Linked DNA regions of Homo sapiens: region 1 is linked to region 2. Evidence: promoter capture Hi-C in human tissues and cell types (Jung and others, 2019). All regions are on one chromosome and are shown on one strand. Each heading gives the region's core, a stretch centred on a gene start or on the middle of the fragment in contact. The rest is flanking DNA. Distances are from core to core; before and after follow the strand shown.

Region 1 (3,495 bases), core at 734-3,233, 46 kb before region 2:
GCTGACGGCAGTAAATCCACAGTGAGTTGGGGCGACTGTGAAACTGGAATGCTGTTACTTTGATAATTACTTTCCAGCAGGTGTTTTCCTTCACAATGGTTTTGTTTCTTTCCTTCTGATCTGAGAAGACATGAACGTTTTCTCTTCACCGCCGTGGGGTGTATTGACTGGTCCCCCATGGGCTGCTGGAAAGGCCCGGAGATGCATCTGTGGCCTGGGGCCATCAAGATCAAAGAACCAGGAGGCCTGGGAGATGCAGCTGGATGGGGCGGCCTGCAGACCCTGCCAGGGGGTTTGAGGACCCTCCCAGGTTTCCCACTGCGGAACAGGAGTGACTCTGGCTGCCAAGATACCTTCATGGTGTTCATGACAAGTGGAATCATTATTTTCAACCATTGAAGGGGGATGCAGGCAAGACACCTTCCCAGCTGCTCCTAGAGGGGACAAGCCAGGCCCTCTCTGCAGTCCTCGGCAGCTCCGGAAGGACACAGTCAGGGGCCGGGCAAACACTTTGGCCACAGCCCCAAACAAGCGCCACCGTGGGAGAGGAGAGGCTGCTGTCACTGGTACCGGATGCAGACCCCACCCTGTCTGCAGGCCACCCCCACCTCCCTGCAGCTTTGAGGCTGGCGGGGTCTGCTCCTGGGAATGGGGTGGGAGCCACAGGGACGACCCGGGGCGGGCTGATGTCTTCTTGGGGGCAGACCAGAGAGCTCAAGTTTCAGAGTCAGAATTAGGCACTTGGAGCGTTTTTGCTGGCTTGCACTTTCTTATTTTCTTATTTTAGAGCGCTTAAAAAATCCGGAAAAATGGGGTTTAAAAGAACTGTCTCTTTCAGTCTACATTTTTGTTTAATACGCTTGAGCAATAAACGCTGACTTGCAGACGTGGCTGTGGCTATTTAATATTGTGTCTCAGCAGCGTCAGCTCACTCAGGTCTAAAAACATCGGGACACAGGGAGGAGGGGCGGGTGGAGGGAGGGCCAGCTTTTCACTCACTGATTTGTGTAACCCCTAGAGGCCAGTACTGGGGTCTGGTGAGAGCCCAGTGGCATTCCCCGGGGAAGAGGGAGGGAGCTGGAAGGGAACCACCCCCGCCAGGGGACGCTCCCACTCCCCCCCTTCAAGTCCCCCACCAGCCCCTTCAGAGTCGGGGCAGAACCTCCCTTTTGGGGTGTCTTGGGAAGTTAAATGCAAAATAAAGTTGATTTAAAACCAAATGAAGACATCTAGGCTTTGGAAAGTTGCCAGGAGTGAGGGTCCTGGTGGGGCAGGTGTGTCTTTCCTACCCCCACTCCGAGATGCCAGATCAGACACGAGCTGCCCTGGCGGGGTGATCCGCGGGGTGCGGGGGGAAACGACAGGGGCCGTGTGGACCTGGGTGGGCTCAGAACCCCCCGGGGGGCAGCGGCGTGGGACCCCACGAGTGGTTCTGCGGATACCAAGGCCCTCCCAAGTTCCGCCGCAGGACGGGGGGCGCTGATACGGTCACCCCGTCGCCCCCATCCGCCAGGACCCGCAGCGCGCAGCCCGGGAGGAGCCCAGCGCCCGCGGCCTCCTCACCCCGCCGCTCCAGCCTCGCGTCGGGGAAGGGCCCAGGGACAGAGGGCGGCATGAGGGCCCCGGGGAGGGCGAGAAGGCCTGGCGGGCCTGGGGGGCCCGAGGGGGAGGGGCAGGATGTGACCCGCGGGTCTTTGTGACCTGGTGGGGGATGGAGTGTGACCTCCACAGGGGGGCGCGGGGCCGCAGCGCGTGACCCGGGGCTACACTCGGGCCCTCCCCCGGCGGACACCATGGCGCGCACCGTCCCGCGCCGCCGACCCCGCAGCCGCGCCTGCTCCGACAGCAGCCCGGGACCCGGACCCCAACCCGGGCCCAGCCCAAGCGCTGATGACTGCTGCCCGTCGGGGCCCGCGCCCCCCGCACGCCGCAGCTCCCCGCGCCCCCGCGCCCCCCGCCGCCCGCGCAGCCCCACGCCCCGGGGCCGCCGCCGCTGCACAGCCCGAGGCCACGGGCCCAGCAGCCGCCGCACCGGGGGTGCACAATGCGCGTGGCCGCCCCAGCACGTTGTCCCAGGCAACCCCAGGAAGCCGGGCGGCGCAGCGCGAGCCACTGACCCGGTCCCCGGTGAGCACGACCCCCGACCGCGGAACCCCAGGCCCGTCCGCGCTTCCGATCCCGGACAGGACCCCTCCTCCCCATCTGCCTTCGGAACCCCAGACCCGCCTCCCACACCCGGAAACCCAGGCCTACCCCCTCCCCGCCCCGGGCCTCCAAATTCTAGACCCCTTACCCTAGGAATCCCAGACCCGCCTAGCTCGGAACCACAGAACTCCCCCACTAAACCTGCCCAACTCTACCCACTCGCCCGCCCTCGAAAGCCCAGAGCTGTTCTCCCCACCTTCCCCCATCTTCTGGGAACTCCACAGCTGTCCACTCCCCTCTGCCTTCAGAACCCCATACCTCTCCTCATTAACCTAGACCTGCACCCCCAACCCAGACCTCCCCCTCGACCTAGACCTGATCCCCAATTGAGACCTGATGCCCACAACCCAGACCTGACCCCCAACCCAGACCTGACCCCGACCCAGACCTGACCCCAAAAACCCAGACCTGATCTCCCAACCCAGACCTGACCCCAACCCAGACCTGACCCCCAACCCAGACCTCCCGCTCAACCCAAACCTGACCCTCAACCCAGACCTGACCCCAACCCAGACCTGACCCCCAACCCAGACCTCCCGCTCAACCCAGACCTGACCCCCCAACCCAGACCTGACCCCAACCCAGACCTGACCCACAATCCAGACCTGATCCCCCAACCCAGACCTGACCCCCAACCCAGACCTGACCCCCAACCCAGACCTCCCGCCCAACCCAGACCTGACCCCAACCCAGACCTGATCCCCCAACCCAGACCTGACTCACAACCCAGACCTGACTCACAACCCAGACCTGACACCAAACCCAGTCCTGACCCCCAAACCCAGACCTGACCCCCAAGCCCAGACCTGACCCCAACCTAGAACTGATCCCTCAACCCAGACCTGATCCCCAACCCCAGAGCTGACCCCTAATCCAGACCTGACCCCCAACCCCAGACCTGACTCCCATCCCCAGACCTGACCCCAACTCAGACCTGACCTCCCAACTCCAGACCTCATCCCCCAACCCAGACCTGATCCCAACCCCAGAGCTGATCCCCAACCCCAGACCTGACCCTCAGCTTGGGCCTCAGAACCCTCTCCATCCCCAGAGCCCCCCACACCCTCCCAGTTTCCTGTAACCACCACACCCTCTCCTCTAGGGGTCAGAGGAGCAAAGGGCAAGCTGTCGGAGGCCAGTATGGAACCAGAGAGGAAGGGGCTATCGTTGGCTTCTTCTTCAGATGGAGACGGGAGAGAAGAAAATAGTGGGTATCGTGTATTGCCTGTGTGCCAGCCACTCGCCCAGAGTGGCCCGGGCTCAGAGGCAGTGCTGGCTGCAGCCTGCTGC
Region 2 (3,755 bases), core at 980-3,479:
GGAACCTCGTGCCCAGCACCCCCGCACCCGCTCCGGACCCTCCGAGCCGCTCTGGGGAAGGCTCCAGCCCGGGTCCCGGGCGGACGCTGGTTCGTTCCTTCCCGCGTTCGTCCGACGAGTCTCGGCGCCGCCCAGGGTCTCCGCACCCCGTTTCCTCCCATCTGGTGCCCAGCGCGGGCGCGGAGGGAGCCCCCGGGGTTGGACCCTCAGATCCCTTCACCGTTGGGCTTCTGGGCGACCGATGGTCACTGGGCTGTGTGGCCGTGCTGCCCTGGAGACCCAGACTTGGAAAGACCCCACCCCCACCCCAGGCCTCGCCCAGCTGCGGTGGGTGATCTCGGTGGCCGGGGCCCGCCCAGGAGCCCGTGGCCTGGCTCTTCATGGATACTGAGCAGGGCCAATCCCCCAGCCCTCAGAGACAGGGCTGGAGCCCTCTGACCTCAGGCTGGAGAGGGTGGCCGGGGGCCTGGGGCAGAGGGCAGAGGCCGGCCCCACTGTCCTTCCCTGGGCCTTGGAACCAGCACCAGCCACACCCCGTGGGCCGTCCCTACACGAGATCACCGACTACTGGCCACCTGCAGCCCCTGCCTGCGTCACGGCACGCTGGGATGGCGCCTTCAGGCAACGGGTGTGTCGTGGTGGGGGCCTGTCCCAGAGAGGCCTGGAGAGAGGTTTGGGTGTGAGTGGGCCCATGGGGGAGGGACATTTGTCCTTTCCCAATGATCCTGCTGGCCGTGCCCATGGACATCGTCTGGGACACCCCTGCCACAGTACAGCAGCCCCCATCGTCCCCTGGTATAAGGAGGGCTGGAGGCCAGGCTGAGGGGCGAGGCCCAGCTGGAGTATCTGTCTTACAGCTCAGCCAGCCTGGGATAGGGGATGACAGTGGCCCGTCCTGAGCCACCCCCAAATGTGCCTGCCTGCTGCTGACCATGCCGTGGCATGGAGGCTGGCACTAGCCACTCTCTCCAGGGCATTGTGGCCACAGGCACGCTGCTGCAGGGGGCGGGCTCAGCCCCATCTACTCTGCCCAGCAGTGAGTGCATAAGTTCCAGCCCATGGAGGGCTCTAGGCCAGGCGGGGGCAGGGTCGAGGTGCTGGCCCAGGAGGCAGGGAGGTGGGCAGTGCGGGGTGGTGGGAGGGAGGGAGGACTTCACGGTCACAGCAGCCCCTGCCGCCTTCCCTCCCCTGGGACCGAACCCCAGAGCTTGTTTCTCAAGCTCCCTCCTGACTACCCGAGCCCACAGTGTGAGGCCCACAGCCTCTCCCAGCCTGGGGGTGGTGCCGCCCTCCACACTTGGGGTGTCCTGTGGGTATTCCAGGCAGAACACCCCAGCTAGACACTCCCAGGCTCCCCAGCTATTAACTCCCGCCATCCCCCCCCCACACACACACAGACACACACACACACACACACACACACACACACACACACACACACACACACGTGGGGCAGTGCCCTCCCAGAACCTGAGGCAGGTGCAGAAGCCTCTGTGCCTGTCCAGGAAGGGAGGAGCCAGGAGGACCCAAGAACTGCACCCTGGTTCTCTCCAACCCCCTGCCCTGGCTGGAGGCAAATGGGAAGCAGTAAGCTTCTGCCCAGAAACTTTCCTATGCATTTGATGCTCCAAATAAGAAGATGACACAGAACGGCTCCCTGAGCAGAGGCTGGGCCCCAGAGTTCCCAGCCTCGGGGGGTGCCCTCCGGAGTGGGGGGGGGCTCATAGGGAGGACCACACAGGGGAGGTGGCCTTTTGCATCTTGAGGGGAGGTGGAGGCCAGGGACTTGGGTGGAATCTCAGGTCTTAGGAGAGGGCTCCCCTTAGGGGCTGGGGCTGAAGCCAGGGGCTCTGGGGTATGAGTGCCCAGGACAGATTCCACCCCTCTGCCAGCCCAGCCAGCTTTCCAGGGCCCTTGTCTACCCTCCTGGCCTCATGCATGCCTGAGGGAGGTGCACGCCGGCGGCAGCCTATCCCGCCGGCCTGGAGCCATCTCTGCACCAGTGGCCGCCCTGTGGGGAACCCCATTAGGGTGTCCTCGGACCCCAAAGGCCCCAAGGTTTCTGGATGCTTCCTTTGGAAACCTAGAAACTCCACAAGTGTCTGGCCACAGTCTTCTGGCCCCAGGCGGTGGAAAGTCTCCCGGGCTGCTGTCTGTGAAGCGAGCCCTGTTTTGCCGGGAGGGGGAGTGTCTCGCTCGCTCCAGCTGTGAAGAGCAGCCTCCACCCTCTGTTTGTCTTTGGGGCTGGAGCTGCAGGGTCAGCCTGGAGCCGCTGCCACAGGGCATCCTGCAAACTTGCCCCACTCACATCCACGCTTACCAGTGGGAGCTCTCACTGCACAGCCAGATGCTGGCTGGGCAAGCACTCGCGTTCTTGGGCCTGACCTGGGGCACTTTCCAGAGCCTGGCCATCCCCCGGATTACAGAATGTGGCCTCTCCTGTTCTCAGGTAAGCTCCTGCCTCCTCCTAGGCCCCTACACTGTGGCAGATAAGGCCCTGGTTTCTCCTCAGGTGGGTCTGGCCTGACGCTCTCAGCACATCAGCAGGTGAGGGGTTGCAGGGCCCTGGGGGGTCCGAGGGCAGCGCTGGTGAAAGAAGGATGGGAGACCTGGCCTGACCCTGCCGAGCTGCTCCGGGAAGTGTTTGCTGGAAGCTCAAGGCAGGGTGAGCCCACCTCGGACCCACCTGTGACCTCCAAGGAGGCTGTGTTAGAATCTAGGGCAGCCCGCAAGCCCATCCGGGGCTCCCACCCCACCCCGCTCGGCTGCTCTGAGCCATCGGGAGCCCGCAACACCTGGGCTTGTGTAGACACCTGCCAAGGAAACACTCGGAGAACGTGCTGAGAATGAGATGTTGGCAGTGGAGGTGGCTGGGTTGGGGTGGAGGGCTCTCACTGCACAGCCCACTCACTCAGCCTTACAGGAGAGGGCGCTTCATCAGCACCTGCAGCAGGAAGTGTACCCAGCATCCCAGGAAGGGGCCCCGGTGCCCAAGGCTGGCCGGGCACAGTGGGGACACAGGCATGGAAAGGGCACAGAAGGTGTCCCGGAAAGGGAGGACTCACTGAGGACCTGCTGGGTGCACCGTTCCTGGCATGGGGACAGCAGTTAGCAAGATGTGCCTTTAGGGTGGTGGCCTGGTCACCTCAGGGGACACTTGCGGGGACATCCAGCAGCTCCACAGGGCCTGAGACGGGTCCAGCAGAGGGCTCAGCTCAGGGAGGGGAGCAGCAAGGGCTGGAGTGCTGGGTGCCATGGGCAGGCTCAGATCCACAGGGCATTCGTGGAACAAGGAAGAAAGCAGGCTGGGATGCGTGGGAACCGGTGGCAGCAGGGGAGATGGGCGGGTTCAGGTGGGAGGGGTGTCCACCGGATGCCACCCTGCAGTGGAGATGGAAAACAGGGAGGGGGCAGGCCTGGGGATCCTGGCTAGGAGGGGGAAGGAGAAGCGAGAGATGAGACCTCAGAATCGACTTTTGCCTCTGGGAGGAAATGGTCCCTGAGTTGGGAGACATGGGGGGAGGCGGCCTTGAAGTGCAAGCTGGAAAGCTTTGCTGAGGCGGCTGCGGGGTATGCAGGCAGCCTCCCGGTCCGAGGTGTGACCGCGCTGTCCACGCTAGGACGGCCAGGTGATCCTGGGGAATGGGTGGGGACCAAGATTGAACCCTCAGTACTCCAAGGAAAGGGGCAGGGGCAAGGGCAGGGGCTGAGGCGGGTGGAAGAGGCCAGGAAGGAGGGGAAGTGCTGGAGGGGAG

What was found. The method cuts DNA at HindIII sites, captures the fragments that hold promoters and counts their contacts. A contact is called where the count stands out against the background at its distance.
Region 1: a contact is called between the fragment with the promoter of TTLL8 here and the fragment with the promoter of IL17REL in region 2, in 1 of the 25 tissues and cell types used here (H1 embryonic stem cells).

What each region holds. Positions count from the first base shown.
Region 1 is chr22:50,056,786-50,060,280 of GRCh38, reverse strand. It overlaps TTLL8 (tubulin tyrosine ligase like 8), which reads left to right and starts at 1,983. Exons shown (of 14, transcript NM_001350317.3): 1 at 1,983-2,127; 2 at 3,308-3,412. The coding sequence starts at 3,346. It overlaps MLC1 (modulator of VRAC current 1), which reads left to right. Exons shown (of 12, transcript NM_015166.4): 12 at 1-890. The HindIII fragment of the contact is 29,458 bases long and covers 1-3,495 here.
Region 2 is chr22:50,011,239-50,014,993 of GRCh38, reverse strand. IL17REL (interleukin 17 receptor E like) reads left to right here and starts at 2,229. Exons shown (of 15, transcript NM_001371417.1): 1 at 2,229-2,449. The coding sequence starts at 2,348. RefSeq lists an enhancer at 1,744-2,344. The HindIII fragment of the contact is 6,785 bases long and covers 1-3,755 here.